Regions from separate parts of the Homo sapiens genome. Here all the other regions are linked to region 1. Evidence: promoter capture Hi-C in 16 types of primary human blood cells and fetal thymus (Javierre and others, 2016). All regions are on one chromosome and are shown on one strand. Each heading gives the region's core, a stretch centred on a gene start or on the middle of the fragment in contact. The rest is flanking DNA. Distances are from core to core; before and after follow the strand shown. Region 1 holds the start of SETBP1-DT (SETBP1 divergent transcript). Region 2 overlaps SETBP1 (SET binding protein 1). Region 3 overlaps SETBP1 (SET binding protein 1). Region 4 overlaps LINC01478 (long intergenic non-protein coding RNA 1478). Region 5 overlaps SETBP1 (SET binding protein 1). Region 6 overlaps SETBP1 (SET binding protein 1). Region 7 overlaps SETBP1 (SET binding protein 1).

The links. The method cuts DNA at HindIII sites, captures the fragments that hold promoters and counts their contacts. A CHiCAGO score of 5 or more calls a contact.
Region 2: a fragment that was not itself captured here is called in contact with the fragment with the promoter of SETBP1-DT in region 1 in 2 of 17 cell types (naive B cells and total B cells); the score reaches 7.5 in naive B cells.
Region 3: a fragment that was not itself captured here is called in contact with the fragment with the promoter of SETBP1-DT in region 1 in 2 of 17 cell types (naive B cells and total B cells); the score reaches 5.5 in naive B cells.
Region 4: a contact is called between a fragment that was not itself captured here and the fragment with the promoter of SETBP1-DT in region 1, in 1 of 17 cell types (M2 macrophages). The highest score is 7.1, in M2 macrophages.
Region 5: a contact is called between a fragment that was not itself captured here and the fragment with the promoter of SETBP1-DT in region 1, in 1 of 17 cell types (total B cells). The highest score is 6.2, in total B cells.
Region 6: a fragment that was not itself captured here is called in contact with the fragment with the promoter of SETBP1-DT in region 1 in 2 of 17 cell types (total B cells and naive B cells); the score reaches 9.1 in total B cells.
Region 7: a fragment that was not itself captured here is called in contact with the fragment with the promoter of SETBP1-DT in region 1 in 3 of 17 cell types (naive B cells, total B cells and activated CD4 T cells); the score reaches 7.3 in naive B cells.

Annotation. Positions count from the first base shown.
Region 1 is chr18:44,678,219-44,681,127 of GRCh38, reverse strand. It overlaps SETBP1-DT (SETBP1 divergent transcript), which reads left to right and starts at 1,256. Exons shown (of 2, transcript NR_187430.2): 1 at 1,256-1,512; 2 at 2,239-2,909. SETBP1 (SET binding protein 1) reads right to left here and starts at 240. Exons shown (of 6, transcript NM_015559.3): 1 at 107-240. RefSeq lists silencers at 366-415, 556-805, 1,476-2,115. The HindIII fragment of the contact is 7,071 bases long and covers 441-2,909 here.
Region 2 is chr18:45,040,979-45,043,996 of GRCh38, reverse strand. The region is part of intron 5 of SETBP1 (SET binding protein 1); the gene reads right to left. Among named protein-coding and RNA genes, the nearest start is that of MIR4319, 72 kb to the right of the region's middle. The HindIII fragment of the contact is 2,800 bases long and covers 212-3,011 here.
Region 3 is chr18:45,002,111-45,004,900 of GRCh38, reverse strand. The region is part of intron 4 of SETBP1 (SET binding protein 1); the gene reads right to left. Among named protein-coding and RNA genes, the nearest start is that of MIR4319, 33 kb to the right of the region's middle. The HindIII fragment of the contact is 2,859 bases long and covers 1-2,790 here.
Region 4 is chr18:44,325,328-44,328,117 of GRCh38, reverse strand. It overlaps LINC01478 (long intergenic non-protein coding RNA 1478), which reads left to right. Exons shown (of 5, transcript NR_110792.1): 3 at 1,636-1,871; 4 at 2,690-2,790. Among named protein-coding and RNA genes, the nearest start is that of LINC01478, 200 kb to the left of the region's middle. The HindIII fragment of the contact is 3,567 bases long and covers 1-2,790 here.
Region 5 is chr18:45,059,168-45,061,867 of GRCh38, reverse strand. The region is part of intron 5 of SETBP1 (SET binding protein 1); the gene reads right to left. Among named protein-coding and RNA genes, the nearest start is that of MIR4319, 90 kb to the right of the region's middle. The HindIII fragment of the contact is 641 bases long and covers 976-1,616 here.
Region 6 is chr18:45,019,195-45,022,189 of GRCh38, reverse strand. All of the region lies in intron 4 of SETBP1 (SET binding protein 1), which reads right to left. Among named protein-coding and RNA genes, the nearest start is that of MIR4319, 51 kb to the right of the region's middle. The HindIII fragment of the contact is 1,964 bases long and covers 652-2,615 here.
Region 7 is chr18:44,978,432-44,981,252 of GRCh38, reverse strand. The region is part of intron 4 of SETBP1 (SET binding protein 1); the gene reads right to left. Among named protein-coding and RNA genes, the nearest start is that of MIR4319, 9.7 kb to the right of the region's middle. The HindIII fragment of the contact is 913 bases long and covers 826-1,738 here.

The DNA.
Region 1 (2,909 bases), core at 7-2,506:
TTTCAGAGTCCCAAAACCAGAGAGCACAAGAAAGAGACTCAAATCCATTGATTAAGATTTTTAAGAAAAAGACTAACACACAGGCACAACACAAGCACACACCAACCTTCGCCGGCTGGACCACTTCTTGCCTGTTCTTCTTTCTATTAACGACACGTTAGATTCTGATACATTCCCCCCCCAAAAAAATCCAACTAGGTTACAATGTAGCTCTCTAGCTCCACTTAACCTGCAAGTTACAAAGAGAGAAAAAAAAAATCCTGCCTTCCCACCCCTTTCCTTACCCCCTCCCCCTCCCGAGTCCACTCCACCAACGCCAAACCCGCCAGCCCCGCCAGCCGGCTGCAGGACCGAGGGAGGGTGCAAAAGGCGGGGGGCGGAGGGGGGGTAGATCAGATTAGGCGAAACTCAATAAGCTCCCAGCCCTCCAGCCCAAAGCTTCCACCATCGCCGCCACCAACGAGCCACTCCAATTGAGCCAGCATCGCCGCCCACCCGCCGGCCCGCCGGAATCGCGCCCATCTCCTGCAACCTCGCCCGGACCGGCATCCCGCCCCCTCGGCCCGGTCTCCCCCTTCCCGCCGGGTGCAAAGTCAAAGACCCAGCAAGGCGACGTGAACTTTTGCATGCAGGGCACACACGTCGCCCCCGGTTCCGGGAGTGCGGGGGCCCGCGGCGCGGAGGGAGGCTGGGCGCCCGGGCTCCCGGGCCAAGGTCGCCGCGCGTGCTCACCCATGTCCCGGCGGCTCCGGCTCCGCTGGCCCCGGCGCTCGCTCAGATCCCGGCTCCCGTCGCTCGCCCGAGCCCCCAAAGGTGCTGCTGCGGCAACTCCATGGCGATGAGCATCTGTCAAACGGCGAGCCGCGAGCTGGCCGCCCTAGCTCGGGGGGCGCCGGGGCCCCCGGGCGCGCGGAGGCGGCGGCGAGCGGCGGGCGCCCCGGCCGGCCCCGCGCTTCCCGCCCGACTCTGCCGCCTCCGCCGCGCCACCGATTTATGGAGAGAGATATCAAGGGGGAAAATGGCGTCTCCGGAGCCCGAGGAGTCCTGGAGTAATCACATTCACACACACACGCCCGCACGCACACACACTCGCACACACTGGCACACAGGCGCGCGGCGAGCCCTGCTAATTTTAGCAGGAGCCAAAAAAAATTTTATATATATATATATATATATATATATATATATATCCCCGTCTCTCCGATCAATGCTTTTTCTTTTTTTGCTTTTTTTTTTTTTTTTTTTTTTTTTTTTGCTTTTCTTCAAAGGATGGGTTGGAGCGTTAAAAAATGTTGGTGGGTTTGGGCTCGCAGGAGGCGGCGCGCGGAGGGCGAGGGCGCTTTTGCTGAGCTGTGCAGTTCGGTCCGCTGAGCCCGGCGGCCCTGCCCGCCCGCTCGTCCGCCCGCGGTCGCTAGTGTTGCCGCCGCCGCCGCCGCCGCCGCCGCTGCTGCTCCATGGCCGCGCCCGCCCCGCGCCCCCGCCGCGTCCCGTCGCCGCCCGCCCGCGTCCCCGGTGAGCGCTGGAGTGGGGTCGGGCCCGTGTGCCTGCCTCCCGCGCCCTCTCCGAATCCCGGACTCCTAGTGAAAGGAAGGGGGAGGGCGCGGGCGCGGAAGGGAGGTGGATCGGAGCGGCAGCGCGGCCCAGCCGAACGGGTACCGACCGTCACCCCGCGATCTTCCTCGCAGGGGGCGCCGGCGCCCAAGCTGCTCGCCCGGAGGGCCCAGAGCCGCTTCCCAGACCAGAGCCGGGGGAGGCGCAGCCAGTAGCGAGCCCTGAGCGACCTCTCTCCCCACTCGCCCCCCTGCCCCAGTGAATTTCTGTCAGTTGAAGGGAGCGGGGCTCTTGCCCGGGGAAAAGGAAAACAGTTCGTGGCCTGGGATCTGGGACCCCTTGCCGCCCCCAGCGCCCCTCCCGCTCCCCGGCGCCCTTGCGGCCCAGTGGCTCCTGCGCGCCGGAGTCCGCCGCGAAGACTGAGCGGCCGCGGGGATCGCCGCGGGCTCCGCGCGTATTCCTGGGCTCAACACTGCCACTATCTGACACAACAGGAGCAGTGTCGGGGGGGTACTGCGCGCCCAGACGTGAGCTGTGATAGGCTCTCGAAACTGGGCGCATTTTTTTTTTAACCTGGTAATTATATTTCACTTTCAGGGTTTTTTTAAATTATTATTATTATTTTATTGTTGTTGTTAAGCGACTTGTATGCATTCAGATCTCATGTGCATTTTCTCGTTATTCAAGAGAATTGGACACTTGATGAAGGGAAGGACACGGAGAGATGACAAACGCAGACTGGCATGCAGTTGTTTTCAGGGTGGGAAGAACAAAGTGGAATGTCTTCAGTTCTTACAAAATATGGTGGCATTTGTAATCTCTGAGTTTTTGTATTTGGCCTACAAAGGGGGTCTTTTCAGGGAAACACGAATGGAACCCTTCAGAGACATGTCTACATTGTAAAACAATATAGGATAGATACGGATTCGGGAAGGTCTGCAAATGGTTCCGCTCAAAGAACTTGGGGTAAAGTTGACCGAGGACTCGGATTCTGAGAGGACTCCTATCACGTTCTTCATGAGAGTTTTAGGCTATTTGGACTGAGGAATGATTTGGAGGTACGTCGGGGGCATTCCCTCACTGAGGCCATCAGTGGCTGCCTCCCTGCATTGGCTGCTGGTTTGAGTTCCTTCACAGAACTTCTTCGTCAAGTTTTTCATAGGAACGCTGCAGTGAAGTGGAGTGAAAGAGACTGGGGATTGAAGGGTGAACCCCTTCCAGCCCCAATCCCATCCCGATTCCTGTCTGGATGCAGATTCAGTCTGACTCAGAACGGATAGTTCACCCTTTTACTGATCCAAGTGCTCTGTCCTCTTTTTTTCAGAGGAATGTTCTGACTGGCTACAAACTTTTCTTCT
Region 2 (3,018 bases), core at 362-2,861, 360 kb before region 1:
CTTTTTTGTAGCTGGATATTACTTCCTTATTCTGGGCCCCTTCCCACAGATGGCAGCTGGCTAAGAGAAAACTCAAGTATCATAGAATTTGGGAGCTGAAAGCAATTTTCACATCATTTTGTTCTAGCTACTAGTATGCTGAATTTCATTCTGATTTCATAGTATTAAGAATTCCCACTATTATTTGTAATGGTAATTAATTTTTCAAGCTTAAGGTTTTGCATCTTGACTACAGGTAACAGTTAGTTCTGATTCGACTGATGGCTGGGCTAATAACAAAATGATTTCCCTAACATTAGTCCCTGCCATGAGAAGCAAAATGCCTAAAAATTTAACAGACTTATGAAATTTAAATATTTTTACTTATTCATGGGCTCTGGTAGTTTTAAACATGGTAGATAATATAGTTTGAAATAATAATGGATTAGCCTTGATACAACAGATAGAAGCTAAGAGCTGTGCTCACTCTACTTCCTTGTTATCTCAAACTGAGCTACACCTCGAGCAGTTGAGATCCAATGATAGCATGGCTGATACATGTTTGCTTTTTTTTTTTTCTCCTTGGACTTAAGATGAGAGAATGTTGGTGTGTATGTGTTTGTGTGTGTGTGTGTGAGTGTGTGAGTGTGTGAGAGAGAGAGAGAGAGAAAGGATATACTTGTCTTCCCATTATTGCTAGTCTAGTCTTTCAAGTGCAAAACCATACAGATTTTGTTGCCTTGATGTTTTTCTGAGTTCTTACCACCATTTGGAATCTACTTATTCATACAGACTCATCTTAAATATAAGGGGAAAAAACATGTTTCTGAAATGAAATCACAGTTTCTCTATACATTACGTGATCTCCCTGAGAAGTTAGTTCAACATCTAGAAAATCAGAAAAATCAGCCTGGCTTATTCAGGTATGGATTATCTGATATGATTATTAAATCATGATTGGGCTAGTGTAATAGAAGTTGTTTCAAATTATGCCTCACTTTGAGCAAACTTTAGTGGCGCTTTTACTGCATTAGCCCTAATTACTCACAATAATGATGCAATGCTCCCTTGAATCAGACCTCCTTGGCTGCACCAGGGGACTGCAGCTGATCAATAGCTATTGAGCAGTTTGACCACTGAGGCTGATCTGTTTGAGCACCTCCGGCAGCCACTGTCATCCTCCCTCCCAGTAGCTCACAAACTGACATGTTCCCAGCTCGCCACTCTCTCCTGCATCTCCTCGATGGCCCCCTTTTACAAATCAATAATGTCATAATCATTATGCCTCTGAGACTCTGAGAAGGTAAAAAAATTGCCTGAAACAAAAAAATTGGGGGACCCATATAACACATGCATATATGCATACAAGCTAGAAAACACATATTTGTAAACCCCTGACTCATATTCATTTCTCCCATATTGTATCGTTTATAAAATAAGGTGGGAATGTTCCTTTGTTGTACTTTTACCAAAGATCACCTATTTGAAAAAAGTGCTGTTCTTACTACAGGTTGATAAATTATTTGGCAAGTATTTTCCAGCGGCCTACAAAGTGCCTGTCAAATGATTTCCATTTAATTGTCATTATGCCTGTAATCCTAGCACTTTGGGAGGCCGAAGTGGGCGGATCACCTGAGGTCAGGAGTTCGAGACCAGCCTGGCCAACACGGTGAAACCCCGCCTCTACTAAAAATACAAAAATTAGTTGGGCATGGTGGCATGTGCCTGTAATCCCAGCCACTTGGTAGGCTGAGGCAGGAGAATCGCTTGAATCTGGGAGGTGGAGGTTGCAGTGAGCCAAGATTGCACCACTGCATTCCAGCCTCAGTGACAGAGCAAGACTCCATTTCAAAAAAAAAAAAAAAAAAAAAGCAGTTTCAAGATTGAGTATGTTTTTCTCAGATGTCTCTCACCATATTTAATGCTGTAAAAGCATACAGCTACTGCCTCTCAAACATTTGTTTCACTCAGTGATTATTTACTGAGCATGTACTATGTGTCAGGAACTGTACTAGGTATTTTTGCATCCACTCTTTTTTTTAAAATTTTTTATTTTTTTTTGAGATAGAGTTTCGCTTTGTCACCCAGGCTGGAGTGCAGTGGTGCAATCTCGGCTCACTGCATCCTCCGCCTCCCGGGTTCAAGCAATTCTCCTGCCTAAGACTCCTGAGTAGCTGGGATTACAGGAGCATGCCACCACACCTGGTTAATTTTTGTATTTTTAGTAGAGGTTTCACCATGTTGGCCAGGCTGGTTTTGTACTCCTGACCTCAGGTGATCCACCCACCCTGGCCTCTCAAAATGCTGGGATGACAGGTGTGAGCCACCATGCCTGGCCTGCATCCATTATTTCTAAATAAAATTTCTAATTAATTGAATTACTTCAGTACCTTCTTATCTCAATACACGATTGCTTAAATTTGTTTTATAAGCCACCTAGTTTAACTCTTCTGTCCTTTTTTTTTCTCCCTGCAATTGTCTGGGTTTCCAAAACCATTCTGTAGGAATGGTAACCTATTAGAAAATAAGCTGATCCCTGCCTAAAGCCAGACGTAATTCTACCTTGCTTATAGTGAAAGATGAAGAAAGGCACTCTAAAGAAAACAAAAATCAAGTGAGTTGTTTCATCAGAAATACATATTACAGTACTATATATGTTACTATATTTCAAGCACCTAATTAAATAAGATCAAATCCAGAAACTGTTAACTACCTACTTTGTGCTTGGCTTTGGCTAAAGCTATCTATCTACCCCATCAAATTATGAGTTTCATTCACTGTTCTCCAAAAGAAGTAGAAGTCCATATTTATGGAGAAAAAAAATCTGCCTTTGCTCATGTTGGGACTATGACAGAAGTGGGAATCCACTGGAAATCAGGCAGTAAATCAGGAAATTTGGGTTCCAATCCAACTGTATAACCTCAGGCAAATCTCTGAATCTCAAGAGGCCTCAGTTTCTTCACATGTAAAACAGAGCATTGGCCACAAGCCCAGCCTGTGTGTTTCTAGCTCTCCCAGGTTTGTGGGAAGCTTTTTATC
Region 3 (2,790 bases), core at 167-2,666, 320 kb before region 1:
CCAATGTCAATTAATGATGTTTTAAAAAATGACATTGGGAGTGAAGTGAAGAAAGCAAACCATTCTCTAATCTTGGCAGAAATGTCAGGGATTGAGCTTTGCCGTTCAGAGACTCTGCATGGTCCAGCAGCCGAGGGAAATAAGCTCTCACCCATGAGTGAAGCCTGTGATTCACTGCCTAGGCCTGTAAATAGATATGTTATGAGCCAGAAACACTGGGCCTGGGGCTGCCACACTCTCTGCCTAAAAGATGGAGGAGTGGTGGAAAGGCTGTCAGGTGGGCACCAGGTTAGATCTCAGGACACCTGGTCCTAACCCTGTTTCTTTTTCATTTACCTGAAGAGTTACCCACATTCTTATAATTCTTGTTTCCTCACAGGTAAGATAAACAGAAGAGACTCTTCTACTCTGATATTCTTTGATTCTGTAACAGGCAGCTGGTTACACAATAGAAAGTGAAGTTTACATAAACTTGGACAGTAGAGATGCTGTTTCTTCTACACAGTGCATGTGAAAGGATGCATCACACCCAAGGTACAATGAGGCCAATCATCACGCCAACCATCGGTGTAAAAAAGATGAATTTGGGATGCCAAGGACAACATCTACCTGGAGTATTCCGTTTTTATGGCATGAATGGAAGAAAACCACAATAATTGGTCCCCATACTAAGTCATGCTCAAAGAAGGCAGAAGTGCATATATTTTGCCGGGGCTATGTTCACACCTATGCCATATGCTACCTTGGTGTTCATCAGGTGAGATTTATTCTGGTGCAGGATTTCTCCACTTCAGCACGCCTGACATTTAGATGAGATAATTCCTTGTTACAGGGTAGGGTAAAGGCTGTTCCACGCCTTGTAGGGTATTCAGCAGCATCCCTGGCTTCTACTCACCAGATGCCAGCAGAAGCCCCCACTTAGCTGTAATAAATGTATCTCCAGACATTGCCAAAAGTCTCCTGGTGGGGGGCTAAATAAACCCAGGCAAGAATCACTGGCGTAGTGGGATACTATCTTACGAAAGGACTACCCACACCTAAGTCATAAAGCACAGTGATAAGAAATGTCACCCTTCCTGGAATTTAAAAGAGAGTCACCACATTTAGATTACGAAGGTCAACAGACATTTGGGTGCCTATGCAACTAGACCTTGTGAAGATTTAGGAAAAGAAAAAAAGACTTTCAGATTACTGCTGTTTTTTTTTTTTTTTTCCCATGACATTACTATTCTTCCAGCATCTAATGTGGAAAGAGAAGTGAAGTCTTTTATTGGACTCATATGAGGATGGTTTGGCTATGGAGATATGGGCAGGCTACTCGCTCGTTCACATGTTTACAGTGGGAAGTGCCTCCTGTCCTCGAGGCCATGCCTAGAGTAAATATTGCCCATGTAGCTGGTTCATGATGGTGTTGGGTGGCATAGACTGCTGTCTAATCATGCTCCTTGAATAGGACAAAGGCCCACTCAGTAGGCTTGAACTCACATACATACATTACTTGTAATGGAAGAGGGTAATCATGAAAAGCAAACTACTTATTGCAACGATATTGCCATTGTTTAAATGTCACTTGGAGTTTGAAACCAATAGAACCAGATTGTGAGCCAATCAATAAAGCCCAGGGTCCTGTATGCTCATGGATGAGGAACTAAAAAATACACAGATTCCCTAGAATTGTGCACAAGTGATTTTTGAAAGTTTGCATATTTTTGTTTTCTCAGAGGATGAGGGTTTTCTCTGATGAATAATTTTAAAAGAAAATATACCAAAATCTCTGGAGATAATTTCAGAAATATTCCAAAGTATTTTGAGCGATGGCAGCTTTGTGGAATGTGATGTATCCTTTTGAGAAAAAGACCTATTTGTTGAGTTTGGCACATATCAGTGTATTTCTTAAATGGATCAATCTAATTACTAGTTTCTCACATATACCAAGGTGCTCAGCTCCCACCTCCACCCCAACAACCCAAGTTCTTAACTATCAATCCTCAAAGAGGTGGTGAGTAGTTAAGAAGACCCACTGTTTCCATTTTTAGCCAAGTCTACACTGTCCCTTCTCAGATTACATTTTCAACTGAGCCCTTAAAACTAGCCTGAAAGGGTAAAACAAACGAACACCTTTCTATATAAAGAAAACAATCTCAATAATGTCTCTTCAGATGAGAGAGTTGCTGAAGTTTGAGCACCTTGGAGAAGGAACTGCAAAATGCCAGCAAAAGTGGAAGCTACAGGTTTGAGGGCGAAGGCACCCACCAAAGGCAATAACAGGCAGTGCTTAGAATTCGGCATTGCCCTTGGAAACATTTACATGCTTAAAAATATAAATATAAAAGATCGAGGGTGTGGAGGGAGATAAGAAGGAAAACAGAAGAAGAATGAAAGAACTGTTCCATTCCTGGCCACCATTAATACCACCAAATTAAAATAAATCCCAAATGAATAGGACGAACAGTATTGAGGCAAACACTGAATTCCAGCAGGGACCAGGCCTGTGTTGTAAAAACAGGACCATGTGCTTTAGGAGGAATGCTGTGTGCTCAGCCTTGTTTATAACACGGCAAAGGATTCAAGAATGGAATCTGTTCCTCTTGACAAAAAAAAAAAAAAAATGGTTCTTCTCAACCCTTGCCCTCCACCATCTTCCACTCTTTGCCCTTTTCAGATCGCAGATCTGAAAGCTGGGGTTCTAGGGTGAATTTTTGAAATGCTCTGTTTTGGCCTGTTTTCATCAGCATAGCTAGAAGGTGGAGAGGGATGGGTGGCAGGGCAGGGAGCCAGGGAACTGAACTG
Region 4 (2,790 bases), core at 159-2,658, 350 kb after region 1:
TATGATGCAGGTTCAATCAAGCCTATGATGATAGGCTTCATTTGTGTGGGTGTGATTAGGGAGGGAGAAAATATCAAAGTACAAAGTAGAACATTTCTGAATAGAGCTACACATGCTTCGATTAGAAAAATCCCAAGATTTTTGTACCATCTTCACATTCCCAATAATTCCGTTTCTACAGACTCCTGTAAAAGGAAGAAATTGGTTGGCATCTCTGCAAGCCCCTCCTAGCCAGAGCAGTCAAGAAAATGCCATACAATGTGTCCCCTTGTTTATTCTACTCAACATGTGCAGATCTTTGTATTTTTGTCTTTTATTAACTTGGCTTTTTGATAATATGGTCATGCACCACAAAACAATGTTTTGTTAAATGATAGACCTCATAGATGACAACAGTGGCCCTATAAGATTGTAATAGAGCTGAAAAAGTTCTATTGCCTAGTGACATCATAGCATAATTACTTTATTTTAAAAATAAATTTAGTGTAGCCTCGATGTACAGTGTTTATAAAGTCTATATTAGTCTCCAATAATATCCAGGGCTTCACATTCACTCACCTCTCCCTCATTGACTCATCCAGATCAACGTCCAGTCCTGCAAGCTCCATTTATGGTAAGTGTCCTATCCAGTTGTGCCATTTAAACATTGTTTTGACCATATCTTTGTCCTACCTTTCCTGTTTAGTTACACAAATATTTATCATTGTGTTATAATTACCTACAATATTTAGTACAGTAACATGCTGTATAGGTTTGTAGCTTAGGAGCAATAGACCACACCCTCTAGGTTTCTGTAAATATCCTCCATGATGTTTGTGAAATAATAAAATTCTGTAAAAATGCATTTCTCAGAATGTATGCTATCATTAAGCAACATGTGACTGTATATGGTAACGGGACACACTTATAAATAAAAGAGATAAAATGGTTAAAATCTTGAGTAGCCTTTCAGAACAAACTGCTGAGAGAAAAATACATTGTGCATTGTGTGTTTGTAAATTTCCAAAGGAAATATATCACGAGGACAAATTGATAGAAGTGATCAAAGTTTTTTGAAAGCGTAACTGGATTGGTGTATAAAGGAATATGTATGATTTGAATTAATTATTTAACGAAATGGATACATGTGAAAAAGACGACGGCTTTTTTTTTTTTTTGCCTTTCTCTGAAGGACAACTGTTGCAGATGCTCTTAGATTTTACATACAACATGGAAAAACTTAAATCATCTTTAATTCTTGGGTGCAATATTTACAAACAGTAATAGCTCATATTTATATCACTCAAAGGTTTGCAAACCTTTTTTCTACATAGTTATTACCTTTATCCATATTGGTATATGGTGGGCAGATGAGAATTTGTCTTTTTTTACTTAAGGGAAATTAGCTCTGAGAGATTAAATAGTTAATGGGGCAATATAGGAACCTGGCCCCCTGAGCCCCTGTGCAAGGGTTTGCCTCCTATTCACCACACATCTTTTGGGCTCTGGGAGCGAATGCTTCTTATGGCACCATCTTGAGCAAATAATTTCAGTTTTTCTGTTTTTTTTTTTTCTTCATTGCCCCCATATCAGATGGATGATGTTGCAAGAATTCTTGGAGATTTACACATAATTTCTGTGTTTTCTGTTTTGCAGAAGAAAGAGACATTATACAAATGCAAGCTGTTGTCACAACAATGATAAGAAATCAGGAGTCGAAAGATGTGGAGTAAGGGGGAATTTCAGAGAAACCACAAAACACAAAATAGGAAACAGAGACAGGAGAAGATTGCTATGACAAAATTGCAGAAGGTGAAATCTTTGGCAGCCTCTTATTTCTCTGGAGAATATGATATTGTCAGGCTGAGGTGGAAGAATCACATGGTCATACTGTAAGTGCTATGGTTCCAAGTGGTAATGTTATTGATCAATTTTCAACCTGAGATTTGTAATGATAATCCCCACAAGTTGCTTGAGATCCTTAACAGTGAGGTTTTTAGTGAGTTTAACCAACTGTCAGTGCTTGAAAACTCGCCTACAGGGGGCAGCACAAATACAAGTAAACTTAGGGGTAAAGCATGAAATGCATCCAGATTCACAATTGTTTCAGGATCTGCTTGCAACTGAAGCACTGTCTGCACAAGATTCGGCTGAGGGAATATATATAAAACAGAATGTTCCTGTATGATGTTAGTTTTAAAGGTAGATTTTTGGCAGTGGGAGGGTTAGCATTAACATTCATAATGTCACCTGTTATATATGTGTTATTTTTACATTTTAATATTTTAGAATACAGAAATGAATATGCTAATATCATTTTGAAGAGACAATGCCCGTATATATATCACTTGGAATTGTTAGAAATTGGTTGAGAATAAAACATGATCCCTTCTTATGAACTTGGAATTGTTAGAAATTGGATAAAAATTAGAGATGATCCCTTCTTATGACTTCAGCCTAGGAGTACATTGTAGAAAGCCAGGACCAAATCTGACACACTGAAACTTTGATTCCTGATTTTCAAAAAAGAAAAAATACTAGGTGAGGTAAACTGGCTTAACAAGAAGTTATGAATCCAGAACCTGGATGTCAGATATAGATGATCTAGGCTGAGGTGCCTATTCTCTGCCCTTTGCCCTATCCTAAAACTGTATGGATGGAAATGAGCCCACCTTTTGCTCTGAACTGGTGCATTCCTTCCTCACTGCAGGTTGAAGAGGTCTTGAAACATTGGGCTTTCCTCTACAAGCGGAAGGATAGCACTGGCAGCCATCCACTGGCCCAGCAATATCCTGGATTGAGACGATATCA
Region 5 (2,700 bases), core at 47-2,546, 380 kb before region 1:
CCTACGCATAGAGGGAAGTGTGTTGCATTTTATCATTTTGGTTTGTTGTTTCCTCCCATTATTACTTTTGTACCTACTAATAGAGAAGCAGAATAAATATCTTAAGAGAGAGGAGGAAAAAAGACGCTTAAAACATGGATACCATTCTCACTTATTGTGGGTACTCCCACTTGATTCTTTCCTCTGCTTTGTCCCATTTCTCTCTCATGCTGTGCCCAGCACAGATTGCCAGGAGGGTTTTATTTGAAGTTATTTACACCCCCAGCTTCATGGAGTGGAAAGAGCTGAGTCCCACAGGCCAGGTCAAAATGTTACAGCTTTTGGCCAAAGGTCAGTGAGACTGACCGAGCAATGAATAACTACTGAATGATCTTTAAAATAAGTTATAAAGATCAAAATAGAACAAAGCCAGAGTGAGCTTCTGACTACAAAAATAAAATTTTTGTAGTTAGTTTTGTAAAAGAAAAAGGTTGCCTGGTTGTAAGTTATCAGAGGCAAGAACCAATGCCTGTCTGTCTTTATGTCCCTCAAAGGGCCTAGCAGGGTGCCTTGTATATAAAAGAGATTTAAGAATTGTTTCTGGACTGACAAATCAGTCTAATCAGGCCTTGTAGTCGTATTCCCTAGAAGAGTTCTAGTTTGGATTTTTAAAGTGATCATTGCAAATATAGTGATACTAAAACTTAGCCCACCTTCATGTCAGTGACAGATAATTTACCTTGTCCACATAGTTCAGGAATCAATGGCAACTAGTCAGTAGTAATACTCCACAAAACTTGACAGTATTCCAAGCAAAGCTTTCATTTACAGTTTGCCCTCTCTTTAGTTTATATCAGTCATAGAGGAAGCAAATGCTATGTGATATATTATATAAAATAGCATGAAAGAATAAAGTAAATCACCTTGCTGACATGTAATATAGAAGTATAAAGTAAATCAATTAGTTGGCAATACTGTATTTGACCGAGTTAAGCTTGATGGAAATACTCCATGAGCTGCAGGTCATTTGGGGAAAATATAACCAATGGATTGTCACTCTATGTGTTGTCTTTTTAAAATGAAATGCCAAAATAAATAAGTAAACAAACCCCAAAAACAAAATCTCCAAACCAAAATAAATAAACAGAAACCTAGCAGATAGCAGATAATTCCATATTCAAAAACATGTGCTGAATAATTTATTAAGTCTTTGCATTAAAAAAGGATTATGAAATAAAAATTAATTCTGATAGTGTAAATCTACCAAACAATCCTAAAAAATGACATAACCAACTCTTTTGTGCCCACCATTCACATTTAGCAAATGTTAACTTTTTGTCATTTTTTTTTTAATAAGAAAACATTACAGATGGAGCTAAGTCATGGCTCCCTTCTCCATTCCTTTCCCTTTTTTCTATGCTTGTTTTAATCCTTTTGTTGCATATATATGAGCTCATGTTGGTAAAAATTAAAAATCTGAATCTACCTAGTATTGGTAATGATGTAAGAAACTAGGAACACTCACATACTGTTGGTGGGAGTGTAAATTGTTATAATCATTTTGGAGAGTGATTGGGCAATAACTGTTAGAGTTGAAGATGTACACATTCAGTGTCCCAGCAATTTCAGGTCAAGCTTGCCTGCTTTACTCATATATATCAGGAGGCAAAAGTCATATAAGGATGTTCCTTGAAGCTCAGTGTATGATACAGAAAACTGAGAACAATCTAATTAATCAACTGTGTTACATAAAATAATGCAATATTATACATCCATTAAAATGAATAAACTACACATAAATATATCAACATGGTTAAATCTCATTTAAAGAGTTGGGTAGAAAAGGAAATCACAAAAACATGTTTAAGTATACTACTTACATAACTTTAAAAACACACGTACATCTTGAACTTTTATTTTATCTTCAGAGTCCAGTTGTGGAGGTTTAAAGTGACTGCTGTGTAGGAGATCAACTGTGAGTCAAAGATTTGGTGGATGACTCACCTACTACTCAACATCTACTTCCCCCCAAGGCAACCTCATAGAGTTTTATTAAGCCACTAGAGTAGGGCTGTCCAACAGAGTTTTCTAAGATGGCGAAAATGTTCTCTATGTGTGTGCTGCCCCATAGAGCCACTAGCCACTTGTGGCTACTGAGCACTTAAAATGTGGCTGGTGTGACTGAGAAACTGAATTTTAATATCACCTAATTTTCATTTAAATAGCTACAGTGTGGCTAGTGGCTACCCTATGGGGCAGCACAGATCTAGAACTAACTACCTTGAACTACAGAGGACAGAAGACACACAGGGATTCATTCAGTAAATTGTGGACTGTGGGAGACTCTAGACAAACAACCTGGTGTCTTCCACAAATAAATCGCAGGGCAGGGAGAAGATGAAACTGTGCATCAAAAGAGACTAAAGAGATAAAGGACCTTATTTGGATGACAATTGGAACAAACTGTTAAAAGAGATCATGAAATAAATGGAAATTTGAACAATGGGCATTTCATGATATTATGTAACTACTATTAATTTCCGTAGGTGTGATATTTGCATTGTGATTATGCTTTTTGAGTACCTATCTTTTAGAAATGCATACTAAAATATTAATAGATGAAATCACATACTATCATCTGGGATTCACTTTAAAATACTAAGGAAGGGAGGAGGTAAGTGGAAGTATTGATGAAACAAGATTGACTGTAAGTTGATATTG
Region 6 (2,995 bases), core at 384-2,883, 340 kb before region 1:
ATATGGAGTCATGAAGGATGTCTATGTAGAACCATAAACACTCAGCCATGGAAAAGAGGTGGTTTGTTCTCTATGTGTCCAACTTGGGACAAAATCTGCTCCTAGTAGGTTTTGAGAAGGTGGCCAAGCAATTTTAAGACACTTTCGAATCAAGGGTAGAAACTGAACTTTTGTTCAGTTAACAGTAGGGCATAGTTAACTCGTGTGCCCTACTGTACATAATTCCGACTTGCCTTCCCTTGGTTTCCTTTTCTCTTCCTCAACATTTATTGGACAAATTCTACATTAGAAGTTTCTTTCTAGGCACTATGAGGGAAACACTAAGGAATAAGTTATGTTTTTTGCTCAGAAGACACCTAAACCCATGCTCAAATGATTATTTTTGCAAATCAAATCTTATTTGATTCATTAGGACAGCTCATGTTTAGAGAAAGCTGGAGAGGAGGGCTTAGAGAGAGTTATGTTTTCAAGAAAATAAGACCCTCCCTCTCTAGTGTATGTATTCTGCAAATGTGAATTTTTATATATTTGCTCTGGGGTTTTCAATTTTTCTTCTTCTCTTTATGAGTTGTATATTTGACATAGTTTTAAAGGACTTCATTCCCAGCACCAAATTTCCTATAATGCTCATTCTCCAATTATGAAAAAGCTTTGAACACACGAAAGAAAATGGGAGGTTTGGGAAGAGAAGAGAAACAACTGAATAATAATGACAGAGGGTGAACATTTCATTGGTGGTCTAAGAGGACAGATATGCAGATAGAAACCATACAGGCAGTTTAACCAGGAGAGCGAGTTGGGGAGGCCATTAGACCAGGCTGGGGGATTAATGTCAGTTCCTAAACAAGCACATGCATTATAGATTTAAACCGTGGCATCCTAATAACTGATTAAAAATAGTCAAAATAGATGATAGCTGGCATACAGACCCAAAACTAAATTGTTTTACTAATTTCAAATTTCATGCCTTGTTTAATTTGCAAACTGAAGTCAGTCCAGTAAGTTATAGATACCACTGAATTGATATGTGTTGTGATATTCATGTATTTATTCATATTACCTATTTATTTGTTCAACAGATGTCTGCTGAGCAACTATATTGAAGAAGGATGTCTGCCAGACCTTAGTAACAATGTCATTGCAAAACAAGATAAAGATGAAAAGAATTGGTATAATAACCAAGAAAGGGCAGTGATGATTATCATTCTAACTAAAGACAAACCACACATATTGAATTTCTGACCGCTATAGAAAGAAGAGTATTGAACATTGAGATTAGTTCAATACACAAACACCCCACATTTGCAGATGGATATGCAATAGAGAACAAAGCACATTGCACTGATGTCTGGAAAGTTTTGCACACCTAGTGATTCATTTACAGACCATGCTGGACAGGAGCATCTCCATACAGAGGTGACTTCAGGTGTTCAGTGCATGGTTTATGGTCATCAAAAAAAATTGCATGGTGAGAGGACAGAGATTCAGGACATGGGATTTCCAGACTCACTTATCTTTAGCTCTATGAGTTTGAGCATGTTACTGCTTTTTGTCCTGAGTTTCTTTATGGCCTCTAATTCCTTCTGATTCTGCATTTTGGGTAGATAGAAGAATTTCCTCTGCTCCTAAACTGTAGGAAATTCACCTGGCCACCTTAAGGGAAGATCTGAGAGCCAAATGTGGGAAACATTCCTATTTTTTAGAAGATAACAAAGATCTCATTTTTTCTTTAGATAAACCAAATAAAGTGTAATGGGTTTTGGGCATGGAAAGGCCTGGAGAACCCAGTTAGGTCCAGGCTTGTCTGGGTGTTTCTATGATGTAAGTGTGGGTGCCTCATAGTAAAAGTGACTCAGAAGGACATGCCCTAGTGTTGCCTTCGAGGAGAAGCCACTTTTTTTTTTTTTTTTTTTTTTTTTTTTTTTTTTTTTAAGACAGAGTCTTGCTCTGTCACCAGGCTAGAGTGTAGTGGTGTGATCTCGGCTCACTGCAACCTCCACCTCCCAGGTTCAAGGGATCGAGGAGAAGCCACTTTTTAACAAAGTCCCTTTGGTTATTTCAGGACCAACTAACTGTCCACGGCTGAAGACCAAACGATTATATGAGTAACTTTAAATCTCAACCTGCCACAACCCTGGGAGGTAGATAATACCAACCATATTTTATATATAAGGAAAATGAGGCTGAAATGTTCAGAAGCATTCAAAGGTCTCACAACTAAATGTTACAAGGAATTTGAACCCAAGTCTCTATGGTAGGTGCTTTTTCTTAAGCAGCTTTCCTTTCCCATGGCCACTGGAAATACAATTGACAATTTAGTGTGTGGACTCCAAAAACCGGCAGAGAGAATGAGAGGTGTTTTTTATGCATGTCCTTTAGGTAAAGGTATAAAAAAAAATTCTTGTCAACAAATGGCTTGTTTCTTAATTCTGTTTAGTTAGCCCTGGGTTCAAACAGGTAATGGCCTAATGTGGGATTAAGAAGTTGCAGAACCTGTTGAAAAAAAAATACCAATTCTGACTGAATGTGCAATTAGGCCACAACTATGGAAAACATCCATGTACTCAGAGCTAAAAAATAACTGTCAGGTTTGACAGGAACCTGAGAATTAAGCTTCCCAAAGAGAAGAAAGGAAGCTGAAACCAGGATTCAGAGAGCAAATGAAATAGTCAAGAATTGCCAATGAGGCAAATGCCAGACTTTTAAAGAGATTTAAAAAAATTACTCACAAAAAACGATAAATACATGAGTCAATGTATGTTAATTAGCTCGATTTAGCCATTCCACAATATATACATGTTTCAAAACAACATGTTGTACAGGATAAATATATATAATTTTTATTTGTCAAGTAAAAAGAAATTCCCCGACTGTATTCCCCAAACCTGGAAATTATTACATTTCCCAACTAACAAACCTGACAGTAAAACATTATTTTTTCCAGCCTTGGTTATGTAATATGTGGAATGTGTTTGTTTTTAAAAGTACCATTTTT
Region 7 (2,821 bases), core at 33-2,532, 300 kb before region 1:
CGGTGAGAGTCGGGGCAAGTGAGCTGGCTGCAGTTTTGGGCCTCTGCCTCAGGGATTCACAGGATGTTACGGCTGGAATTGAGGGCCTTGAAGATCACGCAGAATTATGTTTCTCAAACTTAAGGGTGCATCGGTTTTTAATAGATTATTGTTCTCCTGCTTCAGAGGTTCTCATTTAATAGGTCTGAGATAAGGCCTGAGAATTTGCATTTCAAACAAGTTCTCAAATGAGGCAGATGCTATTGGTCTGGGGACCACTTTAACTTTGGGAACCACTGATTTAATGCAATTCTTTCTTTTTACAGATGCATAAACTGAGGCCCAGGCAGAAGTACTGATCTGCGAAGGCCAAAACCAACAGCCTGTCCATGAGAGCTAGGTCTAGAAGACCCATATTTCTTGCTTTCAAACCTGGGCTCCTACTGCTTCCCTAGGACCATGCTTTGCAACCTCTTACCCTGCTACACATGACCATAACCTTAACCTAGAGCTGTGGAAACTGTTTCTGAAACTGGCAGCAGGGATGGGCTCTTGTCTTCCTGCTGGAGGCCTGCACCTTCTGTGCCTTCAGTGAAGGTGAGCAGCCCCAGTGCTTGAGAAAAAGGAAAAAGCCTTTCAAGGCTCCTCAACCTCCCTGCCTCTCCCTCCTCTGACAAAGTTTCCGTTTGTAAGAGACGGGAGAGGCACGGGAGGTCGGGGCTATTCAGAACTGAACTTGGTTGTATTATAAAGTAATGAGTTTCTAGAGACTAGATTTTTTTTTTTTTTAAAGCAGAAGAATGTGCGAATCAGAGAAACTACTTGGGGCTGGATGACCTCTAAGCTTTCCTCTAACTTTGAGATTCTACGATCTATGAAATTGGCTCTTATAATACATATTGTAGTAAAATTTCCTCATTTCCAACCCTACTAAACCATGGTTTGTGACAAGACGCAAGTTGTAATCAAATAATGCTGAGCCCTAAAAACAGTTTACTGTGCAAACTAGCTATTTCTAGTCTTATTTCAGCAATCAATTTATAAAATACATGTCCTGACACCACTATCAAAATATTCCCAGCTCACCCAATCACTCTACATCTTCTCAATCTGCTTCATTCTATACTCAGTACTTATCAATATCTGAGATCATATTATAGGCTCCTGGCTTTGCTTATTGTCCGGTTCCACAGAAACAAGAATAGAGAACAAAGCATCACTTCTCGTGGTCACTGCTCTAACCACGACATTCAGACAGTCTGGGCACACAGTGACACTGGATCAACATTTGCTGAGTTGACTCCAAAATTTCCATACCTCCAAATTTACATCCACATGGGTTTTCAAACACATGAACTTAGTTATTAAGAAGGAACTGCTTTTTGTAAATGTATTAAATGAGGAACATGAATGAAGAACCAAGACAGTCACATGTTTCTGCTCTGTGAGCCAATATGTGCAATAGATGGTGTTAAGAAAAAATAAGGAATATTCAATTGCATAGAGTGAGTTTTCTTGAGCCTTGACCATATTTCGTTTCTCTGAGAGCCTCCATATGTAAGAGTTATTTGTGATTTTTATATCAGTGTGGACCATTGGTTAGCACTTAGTTCTGGAATACTTTCTTCTCAAATTCTTAAATCAAAATGACCAGCTCAATCAATGACTCAAAATTTCAGATTCATTCAACACACAAATACATTACCCCTGTATCCCAGTAGAATCATACAGCTTTGTGATCACTTTCATGAGCCAAGCTTTACTAAATTATCTTTGAACTTATGGAGGATAATACTATACAGAAAATTTCATTGACTACTATTTTATTTCAAGATTGTGGATTGAGCATCGAACTGAACGAAATGTTATATGGATACAGCCAGTAGTACACTGAATTTCATTACAGTAAGGCAGCTCCTTTGAAATTATCCTAGAACAAAGGGCCAGGCAAATATGAAAGGCTTAGGGGCAAAGTTAAAACAGACTGCTTCCAGGAATACAGTTTTAAAGCACAAAACTTTTAAACATACTGGAGTTGACCTCTCAGATTGCAAAGGGAAGCAAATGCAGATTCGGTGGGTTGGGCCCCTAATGGCCAAAAAGCCCGTAGAAGTCCTCTCATGGTGTTGTGGTAGCAGTCACCAGACAGGAGAGGAAAAGCCTCCCTGGGCTCTCAGAGGTCTCCTACTCAACCTCTGTAAAATAAGTGAGTTGTTTAAATCAGCAGCTTGGTAGAGGAGAAAAAGCACCAACTCTGAAGTCAGCCAGATTTGAGTTCGAATTCTGGGTCAGCCCCTTGTGAGACACATGATTTTAGACAATTTATTCAATTCTTGAGGCTCAATATCCTCATCTTAAAATTGGGATAATTGTGTCTGCACAATCTTTAAGACATCCGGGATCATTAAATATTTTTTTTCAATGTAAAATGGCATCACGTCCTGTAGCTTTTAAAACTGAGCCAATAGCTCCAACTCACTGCAGGCCATCATGGGCAGCCACCCCATGTCTGCAGTGCAGGAAACAGAACAGGGCTTGGGAAACATACATCTCTATGTCCATCTATAAAAGACTCACTATGGTTGGTGTTGCTGACTTTGTTAAGAATGACAGTAATGCAAGCTTCCATTTTGACATTCAGTAAGAGCCCTCATTTGAAATATTGTCTTCTCATCTGTTAAATCTGTTAAATGGAGCTAATCACATTTAACCCAGTCCACCTTGGGCAGAGGCAGATATCATAAGAATCATGGCAGATAAAGCAGGTGAGTATAAGTTAATACCAGGTAGTATAATACTATCAGGATTAGATTCCTATTGCTCACTCATTTGGGCTTCAGTT